Linked DNA regions of Homo sapiens: all the other regions are linked to region 1. Evidence: promoter capture Hi-C in 16 types of primary human blood cells and fetal thymus (Javierre and others, 2016). All regions are on one chromosome and are shown on one strand. Each heading gives the region's core, a stretch centred on a gene start or on the middle of the fragment in contact. The rest is flanking DNA. Distances are from core to core; before and after follow the strand shown. Region 1 holds the start of GNG12-AS1 (GNG12, DIRAS3 and WLS antisense RNA 1). Region 2 holds the start of LOC124904198 (a long non-coding RNA gene). Region 3 has its middle 67 kb from the start of RPE65. Region 4 has its middle 83 kb from the start of RPE65. Region 5 has its middle 100 kb from the start of RPE65.

Region 1 (3,647 bases), core at 370-2,869:
CTCTCCGTGGCCCCAGGGCCCTTTAAATGTTACTATGCGTGTTTTCCTCCATAGTTTCTGGAACAGAACCAAACTTTCGTGTAGGGGTTTGGCAGCGCTCATCCTCACAGCCCTGGGGACCGCTGGCACAGGGGCAAGCGAGGCGTTCGCACGCGAAGGAAACTTGCGAGGAGTCAGGGCGGCCCCGCGCGGGGGCGGGTCGTAGAGTGGGGGCCCTCAAGTCCTAGAACTTCAGGTCCTCCATGAGAATTAGAGGAAGGGGGATGGCCAAAGACGACCAGACGTCCACCGAGCTTCCACAGGCCAGGCCTCGCCCCTCCTCCTGCGGGGCCACAACGCGGGCTCCCCGGCCCGGGACAGCACAGCCAGGGCGTCCGGGCGGGAGGCAGGGCCCGGCGCGGAGGAAGGAGCCCGGGGCCGCCGCCGCCCCGCCCACCCCAGCGAGGCGGAGCCGGCGCCCGGAGGAGCAAGAGGAGGAGGAGGAGGAGAGGTCGGAGCCGTCTCCAGGAGCCCTTAGAGACCGAGTCCCGGCGGCGACGGCGGGGCAGCGCACCGGCAGGCGGGTGAGTACCAAGCGGCGGGCGCGGGTGGTGAGTCGGGTCCCCGCGGGGTCGGGGCGCGGCGCGGGGCGTCGGCCAGCGAGTTCGGGGGCCGCCTCCGAGTCCCGGGTGCTGGGAAGCGAGATGGAGGGAGGGAGCGGAGGAAGGAAGGAAGGAGGGAAGAGTGTCCTGCTGGAGGGCGGGGACTGGTCTGGGCGCTGGGCGCCGGAGACCGGGGGGAGGGGGAGGAAGGGGCCAAGGGACACCGAGACCCAGAGGCAGAAACGGCGCGCGCGCCCTCGACGGGCGGCCGCCCGAGGTTGCGGGAAGCCGCCCCCACGGCTGTGGCTGGGGCTAGGGCTGGGGGTGGAAGGAAAGGTCTCCCCTTGAGCTCGCTTGCCTCCTCGCCAGCCTGCGGCCGTGCGCCCCGCGCCGGGTTGGGAGGCCCCCAGTGTTCCCAGCCGTGGCTTGTGGTGGTGTCAGGCGTTGGAGGAGGGCTGGCATGTGGGGGCGACAGGGACGCCACGCCCCTCTGCCTACTTTCTACCTCCCGGGACCAGCCGGCGGGAGCGCAGCCTTGGAATCCGCTGGGCGCTGGGGGTCTAGCAGGGAAATAGCGGGTCGCAGAGGGGAGAGCCCATATGACGCACCCCGCGAGGGACCCCCGAGTGGGGACCCGAGGCTGCTTTTCTGCAGACTGTATTTGCAAGTGGTAAGGGGGAGGTTGAGGCTTAGTCTTGGGTGATTTTTTTTTTTTTAATTATTGCCCCGACAGTTATCCCGTGGGGCAGGGTGAATTCTGTTTTTCATTTTAATTAGGGCATATCAATTAAAGCTAACTTTAAAACGCTGTCACTTAGCACCTCCCGTCACTCACTCGTCCCTCGCTTTGTGTGTCCTGTAAACTTGGCTTAAATCATTCATAACTCACGATAAGGAAGCCGTGATTCTTGTTCACGTCGCCGCAGTGGAGTGAAACTTTGCCCAACTGGGACTGAGTGGAGGCATTGCTGCGGCCGGTCATCTGGTGGTCATCCTGCCGGGCGTGGTTGTATACAAACAAGTGGGTCGAGAAGGAAATCTCTGAACACCAGAGGTAGAAGGGAGGTTCCTGCGCCCACGTGTCAGGGCGCGTTTAATGGCTGCTCCCAGCGGAAACAAACGGGAATTTATTAGACCGTGTGGAGTTGGACAAACTTCACATGATTAGCTTCCTTCCCATCAGTTACTTCCTCTCCCCCCTGCTGTCTTTGCCGACACAGTTTATATTTCCTGGGGCGGTTGTAGCTTCGCCTGAATAGGCTGTGTATAATGAATCTTTTGGATGTCGTCAGAGGCAGGGTCTGCGTCTGTGCCTTCTCTATTTTAAAAGCGGAGTTTGGCTTTGTTTTTAAAAGTGCTAGTCACCAGACTGCACCCTTGCCAGCGCTTCGCAGCTCTCGAAGTAAATTATCGCAGGATGGCGGCCCTCACCTAGGAGAACCAGGAAGGCAGGCAGCGCTAGAACGACGGGATTGAATTTTACTATTGCCAAAACAATCACATTCAAGTAAGGAGCTGTTTTGTTTTGTTTTTGTTTTTTTAACCAAATTATATATACTAGCAAGCCCCTTTTCTAGTAAACTAACGTTATTCACACACACAATTTTTAAAGTAATCAAAAATTTTACAGAGTCTTAAGTGATAAAAGGACTTTCAGATAAAATGTTCAGTCCCTTTGCCTTCTCTAATAGTTAACCAGCGCCGTAAAGCCCTGGTTTAAGTCCAAAAAATGCTGAAAAGTCTACTGCGTCGTTAGACCTTATAAATAATGCAGTCCTATTTTTGCTGTATTTAACTCATGTAATTTACTAGATATCGAACCCCCAACAGGGCACACAGCACTTAGATTTGTGTAGAAATATATGAAAATGTGAATCTGTGTTTCACAAGAGCCTGAAAAAAATAGAATTATAAAAATTTCCTGTCCAGAAAGCTCCAGTCTTACTTGAAAGCTCTCTAACAATTAGATTTGTGGATTTGTGTTGTCACTTGTTAGAGAATATCGGTGGTTTATTAAAGTGTGAGAGCAAAGGGCTTCATGGTCAGAAAACTTGAGGAAGTGGTTAGCCAATATCAAATTAGTTTTTTTTAAAATTAGAATTATGTGATTTATTGTGTTTTGCTTTGTTTTGGAGTTTTATGTCAGCTTAAGCTTAACCTAGGAAGGCAAGTTGTGAAAGCAAGTAAATTTTTCTGAGCCCTAACTTGGAAGAGAAGCTTGTTTAACAGTGATTTGGGGTGTTGGCTTTGGAGTCAGACAGACTTAGATGAAAATATTAGCTATTTAACCTTTTTCAGTCTGATTTATAAGATGGGGATAATAATGGTCTCTATCTGTAGGGCTTTACAGAAAGTATATGAAAACTTTGTCTTTGGAAAACACTTAAACTGGACTTAACACGCAGTACATGGTCAAAATTATTAGATATTTATCTAGCTTGTTCAAGCAGCAGGCTACTGGATAAATTGCAGGGTGGCAGCTTGAACCTTCCGGAAATGCTAGATAGAGCAATTTCAAATTCTACAGAAAGTAACTGGTGTGTGTGTGTTTGTGTGTGTGTATGTGTGATGTTTCTACCACAGCAATATGAATAATTATGATTAAAGGATTAATAGTTTTAATATGCTTTTAGTGCTAAAGTTACAGTTGCATAGTAATTTTGACAGTCAGAAACATTGCATTATCCTTTACATTTAAAGAGAATTTATATTTCAAATAGTTGTGTTTATTAGCCCTAGGTAAGAAATTAAGCCAGGAACAGAAGTATTCATCTTTAACCAAGTGTAATTCTTAATCAAAGTATGAAAACATGTGACCCAAGGGTATCCGGTTATTTACTTTTGCATGTGCTGATGTCCAAGGCCAACAGATAAGCCATAAGAAGTGTTAGGCTGATTGTGAGTCGTTGTTTTATTTGTAAACTTTCATGAGATTGGGTGTTCAGTTAATTCAGGAAATCTACTCATCACATTGTTGACTCATTTCCTAAAATCTAAAAAATTTTTTAAATGCCTTCATCTTGCCAGGCGCTGTGGCTCACACCTATAATCCCAGCACTTTGGGAG
Region 2 (3,647 bases), core at 746-3,245, 590 kb before region 1:
CAGAGCAGAACTAGGTCACAATACAAGACTCCCAAAATTTCTTATTTTCTTTGACATCACTATGTCTTTCATCACCATGATTATAACATTATAACAAACTGTATCTACTTTTACCTTTGACTATCAAAAGTATTTCTAAGTACAGGACCATAGTTGGCATTAATATTCCTGTCACCTTCTTGGACTGTTCCTGGAATTAAGACACCATTTGGAATTGCTTCTGTACTCTTTAGTCCTTACAGGAAAATGTGAAAAATCATCTTATGCAACCTACTATTCAAAATACCTCACATGTATTACCACAGCATAGCTTTTGATGCGAAAGCAACCACCAATTACCTTGTGATCTTTGGTGCAGCTGTGGCCATCTTGGAAGCCTGGGTTCTCAGTCTTCTGGCAAGATCTTCTGCCTGCAAGGAGGACATATTGAAAAGGAATTATCCAGCCGGGCTCAGTGACTCATGCCTGTAATCCTAGCACTTTGGGAGGCCGAGGCAGGAGGATCACTCAAGGTCAGGAGTTTGAGACCAGCCTGGCCAACAGGGCAAAACCCTGTCTCTACAAAAATACAAAAAAAAAAAAAAATTAGACAGCCACGGTGGCACACACCTGTAGTCCCAGCTACTCAGAAGGCTGAGGCAGGACAATCACTTGAACCGGGAGGGAGAGGCTGCAGTAAGCTGAGATCATGCCACTGCACTCCAGCCTGTGTGACAGAGTGAACTCCGTCTCAAAAAAAAAAAAAGAAAAGAAAAGAAAAAGAATTATGCTACAAGGTCTACTCATCTAGGAAGTCATCCTAAGTATCACCGATTGGCCAAAGGCTAACTAAATAGAGAAAATCAAGAGCACAAAATTAAATTTAAAAAATCTTCATTAACAGCAACAAGAACAAAACTGAAGAATGCAATAAACAAGGGTATGGGTTAGAGATAATGATTTCAAAAAGTCTCTATAAAAATAGAGGACTGTAGAAGGGAGGCCACTTAGGGGCCATTCCTGGAGTATACAATATATGATTAACTTAAGGTACAGTGTCATAAATAACTACGACAATTATAAAATCTGAAATAGACACTATTTACTGACCTCTTCCTATGTGCCATGCTAGGAGTTTTACATGGTTTTGCATGCTGAATTTTCCTACCAAGCTAGAAAGGTTGGTTTTATTATTTTTTTTATTTTACAGCCAAGAGAATCAAAGCTCAAGAGAGGCCAGATAACTTCCCAGTGATGAGATCAGGATTTGAAACTGTGTCTGTCTAGTTCTAAATCCTGGTTCCGGATCCTGTGGGGACTTCATTTTTCAGAGGGGAAAAAAACTAAAGCTTTAATATAACAGTGCTATCAGGATTTTTTAAAACTATTAGATAGGAACATATTTAATTCTTCCAGAGACTAAGTAACAAAGTGACTTCACCATTTTATTGCTGGAGTTAATAAAAAGAAACATGAAATAAAAGTATTAGCTCTGCTTTTGAAAACAAACCTATCAGGGACTTTTTCTGTAAGAACCTGTCAAACAAAATTAAACTGTGATTTCAAAGGGAATAGAAATGTCTGTTTTGCTTATTGTTTAACTCCCACTTCAGACACGAGCTGAGCACATTAAACCCACTCAAGAAATATAATATTCGTTGAAGGAGTGATTGCTAAAAGATTTCATTGATGCCAGGTCAAAAAGTATCAGAAGCACTTATTCTGCTGAACTTTTCAACAAAAAAATTACAGAAAGCCCATTTATTCACAAGACTCAAGCCTTTTTTGACAGCATTTAAAAATCTCCTTCCAAAGTGACATATCTGTGAGAGGTTTGTTCTGTGCTGACACTGTAGGGTGGTGTTCAGGAGAAACAGGATTGGGATGTTTCTGTAACTACACAAATTGACAAAGTGGCTCTCTTTAAGTGGCCTGGTATGTTAACTCACCATTATTTCCCACTATTCCAATCAGATATCTGCTAAAAGAAAAATACAAAGTCACCACGTAGTCTTATGCATTCTCTAATTCTGTTCTAACCATTACAGAGGTTTTTTTGCTTTGGGTCTTTTTTTTGGGACGGAGTCTCTCTCCGTTGCCCAGGCTGGAGTGAAGTGGCGCGACCTCGGCTCACTGCAAGCTCTGCCTCCCGGGTTCACACCATTCTCCTGCCTCAGCCTCCCGAGTAGCTGGCACTACAGGCGCCCACCACCACGCCCGGCTAATTTTTTGTATTTTCAGTAGAGGCGGGGTTTCACAGTGTTAGCCAGGATGGTCTCGATCTCCTGACCTCATGATCCGCCCGCCTCGGCCTCCCAAAGTGCTGGGATTACAGGCGTAAGCCACCACGCCTGGCCTAACCATTGCAAAGTTTTTTAAAGTTCTTCATGAGTCTTCACTCAAGAACATGACTGTGGAAATCTGCATCTTGCTTTTCTGTAAATGACAGAAAAGCAACAAAGAGAACAACAATAACAAAAACCCTGCATACTCCATTTGCAATAACATATATAATCTAAACACTTCAAAATAAGCATAGGGCTACGAAAGTAACTGAGAAAGGACAGAAGGAATAAGGGAAGAGGTTTAAAAAAACAAAAAGCAAACAGAGTAGAGAGAGATCCTGAGGTTAAAAATAATGAACTTTCATTACCATGGTTTACATGGCAAGTACAAAGCTTACAAAAATGGGTGCAAGAGGCAAGAAGAGCTGGTGGACTAAGTCTTCCTGGATTTATTTGGTAAAGACAACCTGAAACGATAGGGCTGCACAGAGATCCACACAGCTGAACCATATTTGCAGGAAGCAATTTGTGCCTAAAGGAGCAGCACAGAAGAGAGTCGTTAGGGTGTGAAGCTGGAATACAGCCCTGGTTCCCCATTAACCCTCCCCAAACACACAAAAATAAATCCCTGAAAATTGCTGATCCAGAAAAATCCAACTCAATAATTGATAGATAAATAAGTTTCCTACCACTGCCATAACGAATACCTTAAGTATTCGTGTGGCTTAAAATAACAAAAATTAATTGTCTCACAGTTCTGGAGCCTGGAAGTCTCAGATCAAGATGTTGGCAGGGCTGTGTTCCCTCTGAAACCTATGAAGGAATCCTTTCTTACCTTTCTTACTTTCTGGTGGCCCCAGCATGCTTTGGTTTATGGCAGCATACTTCCAATTCTCAATCTTTAGATGGCATTTCCCCTGCGAATCATCCCATCATCTTCCCTATGCATTTTTGTCTCTGTGCCCAAATTTCTCCATTTTTTAACTTTTATTTTAGGTTCGGGGTACATGTGACATGTGCAGGCTTTGTTATATAGGTAAACTAATGGCACAGGTCTTGTTTTACTGACTATTTCATCACCCAGGTACTCATCCTAGTACCCAATAGCTACTTTTTCTGCTCCTCTCCCTCCTCCCACCCTTCACTGTCAAGTAGGCCCTAGTGTCTCTTGTTCCCTTCTTTCTGTACATGAGTTCTCACCATTTAGCTCCCACTTACAAGTGGAAACAAGTGATATTGGTTTTCTGTTTCTGCATTAGTTTGCTAAGGATAATGGCTTCCAGCTCCATCCATGTTCCTGCAAAATACATGATCTCATTGTCTTTCTGGTTGCATAATATTTCATGGTGTATATGTACCACATTTTCTGTATCCATTCTGTCA
Region 3 (3,647 bases), core at 344-2,843, 550 kb before region 1:
AGGACAAGCACATAAAGGAGATGAATCACTTTCCAGTTCTCATCAGTGAATCATGGTTGAGATCACCACTACTTAATTTGAGCTTTTCAAACATATGAGTCACCACACAAGTTCCTGCATTCTAAATTAGAATGAGAACAGATTTCGTGATGTTGGATCAAGTAGCTCTTAAGGGCAGTTTGCCTGGGCTGGAAGAATGGGTACATTAGATGTATTCCAAACAGCCAGCTTGGGCATGAATACACTGCCCCATCAGCTTTCTGGGAACTGGCACAATAAAATCACTTCCTGAAGTTAGAAGGTAGAGAGAACTCCAACAAGGGTATAAATAGTGCACAGAGTAGTTCTGCTAAAACGACAGGATCCAGAGACACTCTCAGTCTTGGAAATCCTACCAACAAGGATTCAGGTACTTCCTTCTTTTATTAAAGACATTAGTGTTTTCCATTGCCTCCTGTAGTCTAAGTTGTGCTGTCATCCTGAGAGTGTTCCAAAGCCACACGGATACCCTACCTGATTCTCCAGACTCCTTTGGCTTCCTTAGTGTTAATGACCTTCTTCTCCTATCTCCCATTTCACATCACACATACTCCACGTCCATCCCAGTTTGCTATACTTCTATCATTACTTGGAATTATTCTATCTCCTAAATATTAAATTCAAACACTCCATTCACTAACTGCAACCTTTCTTCCAACATTCTCATTCAGTTACTCCCAGTCTATTATTTCTTCAGCCTCTTCAGGACTTCCAGATCCTCTCCTCTTTCTCCCAATATCAGCCCTTCTTTTCTGTAATTATTTTGCAATAATAGTTGTTACCATAAGGGCACTAACAAGTAAGTCATAGCAATTAACAACAATAGCAACTAACATTTATTGAGTTGTTCGTTTATGCCAGGCATTGAATTAAGCACTTATATCATTTAATTAATGCCTTACATCATTTAATTCCCAGGACTACTCTATGAACTAGGTTTTGAGGACCGTAGCCCAGCCTTCATGTTAAGCTTTGCTACATCTTGAACAATTTTACACTCCTCATCATTCTAATATAACTACTCATATGAAATGCTTAGTCATTATTCTAAAACCTAGACCAATGTGGTAAGGGTGGCACCACTGGCATAGTAAGAAATTGTACCTGAAATCTACACTAGTTAGACCAAGGAAATGGAGCTTAACTAAAGGCAGTTTTTGCAGCCTTATAAAGTAATTATACGAGCGGTTGGGAGTGACATAATTTGAGGTATTAAGAGACTTGGTAAGCTCCTGCTTATGGCCTCCTGCAACCTGCAACCTGAAAGGACCTCAACCTGGACAGGCAAAATGCCATCTCCACCAGCTGGGGCAGTGTTCTGTAAAGAACAGGAGAAAGTCAAGAAGCCACACTCACCTCATCTCCCTTGGATGAGGTATATGAGCATCCAATGCTAAGAATGCATCCTTTGCTCTTATAATATCCTTTGCTCTTATAAGCTTATACCAACTCATAAACAACATAAATTTATTTCTCATAGTCCTGAATTACAAAAAAAAATCACCCAACCCCCAGTGCTAACCTTAGTGTCCAGTGGCACTTATAAGGTGCTAAATGATTACTTGTTGAACTGTTTGTTTTATTGAGATTTCAACCCTTTGACAGTATATACTAATGAGGTATCCTTCTCACAGATTCTCCCAGAAGGATAAAGCAATAAGAAGCTTGAACCTAGAGCTATCCCTCTTTATTAAGGGCTTTTTAAAAATTGGAATTCTATCTGTACTATAAATTTCATTTTATTACTGACTCACAAGATTGTTCTATAAACCTCTGGCTAGACCGATTTTATATGATTTTGTAAAAATGTCATCTCTTCTATTTAAAGAATATAAATGCATAGAATTATACACATAGTGTTACATAGACACACACACTAGTTTTCTATTGTTGCATAACAAATTACCCCAAACTTACAACAGTAAATAATACAGATTATTAGCTATAGTTTCCATGGGTCAGGTATCCAGCATATTGTAGCTGGGCCCTCTGTTCAGGATCTCAAAGGTTGAATAAAATCAAGATGTCAGCTGAGCTATGTTCTCATCAGGAGACTCTGGGGAGGAATATTCTCCTGAGCTCATTCAGGTTGTTGGCAGAATTCAGTTCTTGTGGTTGTAGGACTAAAGTCTCCATTCTCTGCTAGCAACTGTTGCCCAGGAATCAATCTCAGCTCCTAGAGGTCACTCAAATTCATCAGTTTGTAGGTTCCTCCTTCTTCAAGCCATCAGTGACACATTGAATTTCTCTCAGGCTTTGAATCTCTGACTTTTGCTTCCCCAGTAAGCCAGAGAAAACTCTCTTGTTTTAAGGGCTCTATGTAATTAGGATAGGCCCACGTGGTTGACATCTTATTTTAAGGTCAACTGATTAGTCACCTTAATAGCATCTGTAAAATCACTTTTTCATGTAACATAACATAATAAGGGGGTGACAATAGAGGGCAGAGATTAAGGGGCTATTTAGAATACTGTCTTCCCCAAATTCCCATTAGAGTATCAACTCAAAATCAAAAATTCTCATCTAAATCTCAATGGCTCATATGCCCCCAATCCCATCACGTAAATCATGTAGAAATCAGGAGAGGATGGGGCTCTAGGGTAACCCATAATAACAGTCCCCAGGCACAATTCCTCTCTATCTGTGGACCTGTAAAACTAAAGAGACATGTTATGATCTTCCAGTACTCCAAACATACAATAGTGGGGCAAACATAGGATAATAGTTATACACATTGCAATTCGAAAAAGGCATAATATTTATATTTCACTGATGTCATGGCACTTTTAGGAAGAAATTGGTATTCCGCTGGGCACTGATACTGAAGATGTGCTCTGGGTCACCCCTACCTATTTCCTACCCACTCACCACTTCTCCCCACATGCCTGCCTTTTCCTTCTTTTCTCTGGCAGGATGAGGCGGGCAGGTCTGGGTATAGGAGTACCCAGGAGTTCCCAACTATGGGAACTATGGCTATGCTAACAGTGAGTATAGTGCCTGTGAGGAAGAAAATGAGACTCACTGAAAGTCTGAGAAGCAAAGTCACTGCTACAAAATCTCTTTCCATTGAAGTGGACCATGAAGCTAAAAATCAAAATAAATTATTAGCTGAAATGGACTCATGATTTGATTCTAAAGTGAGGTGATGCAAGTAACTGTGAGTTTGGAATTTGTTCCAATTAATGGCTTGAAGTACCATTTTGATAAAAATCAGCATCAAAACATTCTTAATTTTCAAATACTATGACCTTTTCCATTGAAGATTGCTGAACTTTGCTTATTTTATAAATTGCATTAGATAATACAGTGCTCGTTGTTTTAGTTTTATTTTACTTGTTTATTTTTGAGACAGGGTGTCACTCTGTCACCCCAGCTGGAGTGCAGTGGTGCTATCATGGCTCACTGCAGCCTTGACCTCCTGGACTTAGGTTATCCTCCCACCTCAGCTCTCTAAGTAGCTGAGACTACAGGCGCGTGCACGCCACCAAGCCCAGTAATTCTTTTTTTTTTTTTTGAGATGGAGTTTTGCTCTTTTGCCCAGGCTGGAGTGCAGTGGCACGATCTTGGCTCACTGCAACCTCTGCCTTCCAGTTTCAAGTGATTCTTCT
Region 4 (3,647 bases), core at 659-3,158, 530 kb before region 1:
ATACTTATGTATACTAGATATTTGATATATGACACAGTTGGCTTTGCAAACCATTTGTGAAAGGAAGGACTATCCAATGAGTAATTCTGGGACAGATAGTTATATATATAGAATGAAAAGCTCAGATTTTGTCTTAGTCTGTTTTCTGTTGCTTATAACAGAATTCCTGAAAGTGGGTAATTCCCAAAGAAAAGGAATTTATTTCTTAGGATTATGGAGGCTGAGAAGCCCAATGACAAGGACCTGTATCTTGTGAGGGTTTTTTTGCTGGTGGTAATTCTCTGCAGAGTCCAGAGGTGATACAGGGAAGGGCATCACATGGCAAGAGGGTCTGAGCGTGTTAGATCAGGTCTCTCCTCTTCTTTTAAAGCCACCAGTTCTACCCTCACGATAACTTATTAATCCATTAACCCATTAATCCATTAATTAATCCATGAACGGATTAAACCAGAACCCACCTGACCCAATCACTTCTTTTTTAGTTTTTTGTTTGTTTTTGTACTTGTTTTTATTTATTTTGTTTTTTGAGACAGGGTCTCACTCTTTCATCCACAGCACTCAGGCTGGAGTGCTGTGGCACAATCACTGCAGCTTCAACCTCCCAAGCTCAAGTGATCGTCCCACCTCAGCCTCCAAGTTGCTGGGACTACGAAGGTGCGACCACCGTGCCTGGCTAATTTTTAATTTTTTGTAGAGATGGAGTTTCACCATGTTGCCAAGGCTGGTCTCAAACTCCTGGGCTCAAGCGATCTGCCTGGTTCCTCCTGCTAAAGTGCTGGGATTACAGGTATGAGCCACCACGCCGGCCCCCAATCACCTCTTAAAGGCACCATCTCTTAATACTGCCATGCTGGGGATTAAGTTTCAACATGACTTTCAGATCTCTACCTCAAAACATGACAATGAACTAGAAACTTTAAATGCTTGCAAGAAATTTTAGAAGAACTTCATGAGCTTAAAGTAAGGAAGAATTTTTCTTTCTTTCTTTCTTTCTTTTCTTTTTTCTTTTTCTTTTTTTCAGAGTCTCACTCTGTGGCCCTGGCTGAATGCAGTGGCACGATCTTGGTTCACTTCAACCTCCACCTCCTGGGTTCAAGCAATTCTCCTGCCTCAGCCTCCTGAGTAGCTGGGACTGCAGGTGTGAGCCACTACACCCGGCTAATTTTTGTATTTTTAGTAGAGATGGGGTTTCGCCATGTTGGGCAGGCTGGTCTTGAACTCCTGACCTCAAGTGATCTGCTGTCTTTAGACTCCTGAAGTGCTGGGATTACAGGTGTAAGCCACCTTGCTCGGCCCAAGGAAGAATTTCTTAATTAAAGATGTATACAATACGCTAAAGGATTAAAAATTTACACACTACACAAAAATTAAATTCTACTTATCAATGGTCAACATTTTAAAAAGAAATAGAACGGGAGGAAAACACAAGAATGCTGAGAAGCAGTAGTCTATGGCATCACAAGCGTCACAAGAGCAGCATGTTTGAAGAAAGAGGAGGTTGCCATCTGTGTTCAACGTGGCTGAGAGGTGGAGTAAGAAGACAGCAAAGTGTGCAGTGGATGTGGAGATGCAAGGCACACAGGCAAGCATAACAAGAGCAGCTTCAACAGAGTAGGAGGAAACCCAGGGCAGTGCCTGGACAGCTGCTCCTCTTTCTCCTCACCCTTCCAGAAAGTGCCACGCCTCCCACTGCCCTGGATGCCCCATCACTTGCATATTCATACCTACCCTAAAATACTTGAATGTAGCGGTAGGTTTCTTTTTGCTTGTATTCTGTAACGGAAAAAGTGGAATTATTACCTGTTTTTTTATTTAGCTGATTGCACAAGCTTTTGACAATTCTATCATTTTTCTGACATCTCTCCCTCTCTGAGAAGATGAGAAAGAGAAACCATAATAAAATTGCGTCAATCCCTATCGTTGAAACAGGTCTTTATTGTTTCTCATTAACCTGAGCTTTCTGGAGGGTCCAAGGATGAAAGCTTGAGGTGCAGCCAACCAGTGCTAAAATCCTAAACCTCACACTCTGTGTGTATGTGACACACTCATGCACACACACACACACACAAATGTGAAAGGCTCTCTTTCCCTTCCTCCTTTCCTTGTCTCTTGCAAGGTTGAACAGATTGGTCATTTTAACCCCATTATGACTTCAATAAAGAGAAGTCAGCCTAAAGAGGGGCAGGGAATGGGCACAGAAACCAGGTCCTGTGCTCCCCTAGGGAGCGGCTGTGTCTCAACTCATGAGATCTTGAAAATATTTCCCCCTTCCTAAAAATTATTCTCTTCCAGCAAAAATAGCTTCTAAACTATGGAAGCTCTGATGTGCACAAGGATTTCAAAATGTCCCTAATGAAGATTATAATTAAAATATTTAAATGGGTTTTTAATTTTCTTTCTGGGCTGTGTTATTTCCTAGTCCTCTTCAGGAGCTCCTATTGTTCAGTCATGACAGAATCCTCTGTCAGAAATTATAGCCTGCTGCCTTTCAGCATCTTCATTAAAATGCAGTGCTGCCAGATATATCTGCATGCATATGAATGAAGCATCTATAGAATAATTAAGTCATGAATAACACATTGCTGAGCATGGCTTTTCCTGAATAAAAAAAGAATGCTATTTATGAACCCAGAAATTTTATATTATATTAAAAAATAATTGGCAATAACAAGTATCATTTGAGGATTCATTAATTTAAATTATGATTTCCCTGCTATAAACTCCATTTTTAATAAAATGGCAATTTACATTGGAAAATGAATGTGAACCTATATGCAATTTTTCTTCATTTTGCTTAAAAGGCCACCCGAAAGCTTTTGGCAATGGGGGTTGCATAATTTGAAAATCTTTTAGGTCTATTATAAACAAAAGGCCATTAGCATCACAGCAAGTTAACAGGCCTGAGTTCAAACAAATAGTGACATATCAATGGAAAAACATAGACAGTATTTGTGATATTATAAAATATTTATTTTTGGCTGTGTCCATGGTTTCTAGCTCACAGCTCCTATAGCCTTTATAATTTCCTAAGTAACTAGAATGATAAGGATATTTTTTGTTAAACTATTTGGCCTTTTGTCTTCAGTTCCCAGAAACAGCTTCAGAGTAGCTCCAGAGTGATGAAGGTGAAACCAGCATTTCTGTTATTTATAACAAGCCCCTTTCAACCACACCTGAGACTATGTTAATGAGGTGATTTTTGGAAAATCCCTAGATAACTACAGGATGAAGGGTTGGTTGCCAAGGGGACTTACTGTGTGCTTAGAGGGTTGAGACTCACAGCCCCACACCCCATCTCACATCCAGAGAAGGAGAGAGGCTGAAGTTTAAGTTGATCACCAGTGGCCAACAATTTAATCAATCATGTCTACATAATGAAGCCTCCATAAAGTACCAGAAGAGCTGAGTTCAGGGAGCTTCCAAATTGGTGAACAAGAATACATTAACCTGCTGGAAGGGTGGCACCCTCCACCTCCACAGGGACAGAGGCTCCTGGGCTTGGGACATTTCCAAACCTTCTTTCTTTGGCTGTTCATTTGTATCCTTTCATGTATCCTTTATAATAAATGCATAAACAAAACTAAAGGGCTTCCCTGAGTTCTGTGAGCAGCTTTAGCAAATTAATCAAACCCAAAGGTAGAGAGGTT
Region 5 (3,647 bases), core at 434-2,933, 510 kb before region 1:
ATTTGGGTATATGCTCAATCCTGAACTATTCACTGTGGTGATGAAATATGCTAATTATACCCCGGACCCTGAACTTAAGGCATTTTCAAAAAGAAGTTTATGGATGAGGGCTGGGCGCAGTGGCTCACACCTGTAATCCCAGCACTTTGGGAGGTTAAGGCAGGCGGATCACGAGGTCAGGAGTTCGAGACCAGCCTGGCCAACATGGTGAAATCCCGTCTCTACTAAAAATATATATATACAAAAATTAGCCGGGCGCAGTGGCAGGCACCTGTAATCCCAGTTACTCGGGAGGCTGAGGCAGGAGAAGTGCTTGAGCCCGAGAGCAGGAGGTTGCAGTGAGCCGAGACCACACCATTGCACTCCAGCCTGGGTGACAGAGCGAGACCCTGTCTAAAAAAAAAAAAAAAAAAAAAAAAAAAAAAAAAAAAAGAAAAAGAAAAAAAAAAGTTTATGGATGAAAGTGGAGGAGGATTACATATCCCAACAAAGAATCAGCTACCATTGCCACAAAAAGGATAAATGGATATTGGGCAGCAAAAACAACATAAAATTATCTCTTACAGCTGAACACAATTTCTGAGATTAACAACAGGCTCAATGTGGTGGACATTTAAGAAGATGAAATCCTCATTGATAAAGATGGGGTACTTGAAATGAGCTCCGAGCACTGGCAGAGGTCAAGACTATGGGCTACCAGTAACAACCTGCTTGACACAAAAACACAGACTGCATGGGGCAAAAGCAACATCAGACACATTCAAGAAAATCTGTTTTCTCATGAAGGTTCTCTGGAAAGTCCAACAGATGAATTGCTATAAAACAATCAGAATTGATTTTTTTTTTTTACTTATATTTCATTCACATTACATGATGTGGATTGAGTTAGTCTTAGTTTTTTCATTGTGTTACGGACTCCTCCAGGTATTAATAGAGATATGTAATGACTCTGGCATCTATATGCAGCCTTCTTTATCTCCTGGTGTTTTAGCCAGACCTATTTCTGCCTGAGAAGACTTAATGGTACACAAGAAACCTTTTGGGGGCTCTCGGTATGAATGAAAGTGAAAAATAAATTCCACTAGGGGGTGCTAAGCCTCAAAATAAAAACACAAAACAAGTATCTTTGATTTTCCCATACCTTTCAACAATCATTGAACAACTGTCTTAATCTGGATTCTCCAGAAAGCAGTGCCTGAGACAAAGTTTACGTGCTACTACTTTATTATAGGATGCAATCCCAGGAAGCAAGAGTGAGGGAAAAGGAGAGTGAGGCAGGGGAAATGTAAGAGCTGATACAAGAATACATATTACTGAGCTGGTCATCTCTTGGTATTAAAAACTACTGATTCCTTGATCTTACAGTGCCTTTCACCAACAGGCCATGTAAAAAACTGCTTCATAGAACAGTCCATCCAGACTGGCTCAGTCTTCACCCAGGAAGATATAAATTCCTCTCATATGATTAAGTTGCACATATATTGACACTAAGCATGTCCTTGAGGTCTCACACCTCAGTCTCTACAGAACAGAAGGTGAAACATATGCAGAGAGGACATAAGGCAAAGAGATGTCAGGTTGTTCTCCGGTGGAACTGATCCCACTTCATGCACAGCAGGTTGCTCCACAGCTGGGGCTGGAACAAGAGGCCAAAGACCTCAAAGATAGGTGAGAAGCACCCAAAAGGTGTTTAATACAATAAGAAATGCTCCAAATATATAATGCACAATTAAGAGGGAAGCAAAAGCCTTGCCAAAGATATCATGCCATGAAAACAGCAGTTGGAGGATGTTTGTGCTTTGACTCTAAACATTAATTATCACTTCTCATTTAACAAGACAACTAGTTGTAGGTTTCTTTTGTATTTCCTAGTTGAAAATAGATTGCTTCAGACTTGCTAGTCATCTTAGAAATTAGATTTCTTCTTTTTTTCTAAATTAATTTTGTTTACCTTTGCCAAATCAACGACATATTATAATTGGCTGAATAAACAGTGTTGTTTGTTTTAAAGAATTAGGATTTTTGTTTTTCAAGCTGATTCATTTTGAAATACTTATAACTTTTCCTGCAATATTAGAAACAGGGCCGGGTGTGGTGATTCACGCCTGTAATCCCAGCACTTTGGGAGGCCAAGGTGGGTGGATCACTTGAGGTCAGGAAGTTCAAGACCAACCTGGCCAACATGGTGAAACCCCGTCTCTACTAAAAATAAAAAAATTAGCCAGGTGTGGTTGTGGGTGCCTGTAATCCCAGCTACTCAGGAGGCTGAGTCAGGAGAATTGCTTAAACCCAGGAGGCCAAAGTTGCAGTGAGCCAGGATGGCGCCACTGAACTCCAGCCTGGGCAACAGAGTGAGACTCTGTCTCAAAAATAAATAAATAAATAAATATTTTAAAATAAATTAATTAAATTAAGTGCTTTCAAAAGTCAAAACAATACAAAAAAAGTAGACACAAAAGTGTCACATCCTTCTATATTCCCTCTACCTCATTCATCTCCACCCCCAACAATCCCTTGTAGATAACCAGGTTTATTGTTTTATGATTTATACATTCTGTTTCTTCATGTAAATATAGGCAAATATATGTATATTTCATTTTCCCTTCTGCCTTACATGGAACGTAACATACTCTAAATGCAGCTTTTAGAAAATTCCTAATAAGCATATTCCCATATATTTTATCTTTTAGAAAAACAACCCTTTACATAATAAGATTTGATCCTTATAAGAATTACTGTATTTCCTTTCTTCTGAATCGTCACACTCTTTTTTCTGAATCCTTCTTTTCTACCTTTAAGTATATTCAGATCTCTTTCATCAGGAAAACGTAAAAACTAAGTAAGGGCAAAATATTTAGTGGAATATTTTCAAAATTCCATTTATAAAACACTGGTTCCCTAAAACATCAACAGCTGTTCAGAATTGTTTTCCACAATGCAATGCATATCTGCAAACTGAAAGTCCAGAGAAGTACAATAATAGACTGCGTTAATTTAATTAAATATTTCCCCAGCATATTTAATCATGGAATCATTTTTCTGCCAAATACCTGTTAACATCCCATGGAATGAGGAAGTACTCCTGGGAACATTACTCGTCACTCATTTGAATCAGGTCTTTTTAGACTACCAGTCATTCCTTATTGCTAAATGCAGTAGGCTTTCTAGAGGTCTTACTCTCTTTGCCTTGCTCCCAGTATTACAATATCTGGTCAAAATGGATTATTCCGTTTCCCCAATCGCTCTCACACTTTTCCTCATGCAGTTAACTCTTCCTGGGTGCCTTTTATTATAAGATCACTAACCTTTTGAAATCCTAACAGTCCTTCAATGTCTGTCGATGCCACTTCTTCCATGTTGGCTTTTAACTTTTTTTTTTTTTTTAGATGGAGTCTCGCTCTGTCAGCCAGGCTGGAGTGCAGTAGCATGATCTCAGCTCACTCCCTGCAACCTCTACTTCCCGGGTTCAAGCGATTCTTCTGTCTCAGCCTCCCTTGTAGCTGGGATTACAGGTGCCTGCCACCACGCCCGGCTAATTTTCGTATTTTTAGTAGAGACAGGGTATCACAATGTTGGCCAGGCCGGTCTCGAACTCCTGACCTCAGGTGATCCGCCCACCTCAGCCTCCCGAAGTACTGGGATTACAG

Evidence for each region. Contacts are between HindIII fragments. The CHiCAGO score rates a contact against its expected background, and 5 or more counts as called.
Region 2: a contact is called between a fragment that was not itself captured here and the fragment with the promoter of GNG12-AS1 in region 1, in 1 of 17 cell types (M0 macrophages). The highest score is 6.3, in M0 macrophages.
Region 3: a fragment that was not itself captured here is called in contact with the fragment with the promoter of GNG12-AS1 in region 1 in 2 of 17 cell types (endothelial precursors and M2 macrophages); the score reaches 6.5 in endothelial precursors.
Region 4: a contact is called between a fragment that was not itself captured here and the fragment with the promoter of GNG12-AS1 in region 1, in 2 of 17 cell types (M0 macrophages and megakaryocytes). The highest score is 5.7, in M0 macrophages.
Region 5: a fragment that was not itself captured here is called in contact with the fragment with the promoter of GNG12-AS1 in region 1 in 1 of 17 cell types (endothelial precursors); the score reaches 8.2 in endothelial precursors.

Annotation. Positions count from the first base shown.
Region 1 is chr1:67,830,260-67,833,906 of GRCh38, reverse strand. GNG12-AS1 (GNG12, DIRAS3 and WLS antisense RNA 1) reads right to left here and starts at 1,619. Exons shown (of 10, transcript NR_040077.1): 1 at 1,471-1,619. It overlaps GNG12 (G protein subunit gamma 12), which reads left to right and starts at 440. Exons shown (of 4, transcript NM_018841.6): 1 at 440-563. The HindIII fragment of the contact is 10,966 bases long and covers 1-2,735 here.
Region 2 is chr1:68,416,814-68,420,460 of GRCh38, reverse strand. It overlaps LOC124904198 (a long non-coding RNA gene), which reads right to left and starts at 410. Exons shown (of 2, transcript XR_007066164.1): 1 at 340-410. The HindIII fragment of the contact is 1,329 bases long and covers 1,331-2,659 here.
Region 3 is chr1:68,380,964-68,384,610 of GRCh38, reverse strand. No RefSeq gene overlaps it. Among named protein-coding and RNA genes, the nearest start is that of RPE65, 67 kb to the left of the region's middle. RefSeq lists an enhancer at 1-551. The HindIII fragment of the contact is 225 bases long and covers 1,481-1,705 here.
Region 4 is chr1:68,364,738-68,368,384 of GRCh38, reverse strand. No RefSeq gene overlaps it. Among named protein-coding and RNA genes, the nearest start is that of RPE65, 83 kb to the left of the region's middle. The HindIII fragment of the contact is 153 bases long and covers 1,832-1,984 here.
Region 5 is chr1:68,343,827-68,347,473 of GRCh38, reverse strand. No RefSeq gene overlaps it. Among named protein-coding and RNA genes, the nearest start is that of RPE65, 100 kb to the left of the region's middle. The HindIII fragment of the contact is 5,529 bases long and covers 1-3,647 here.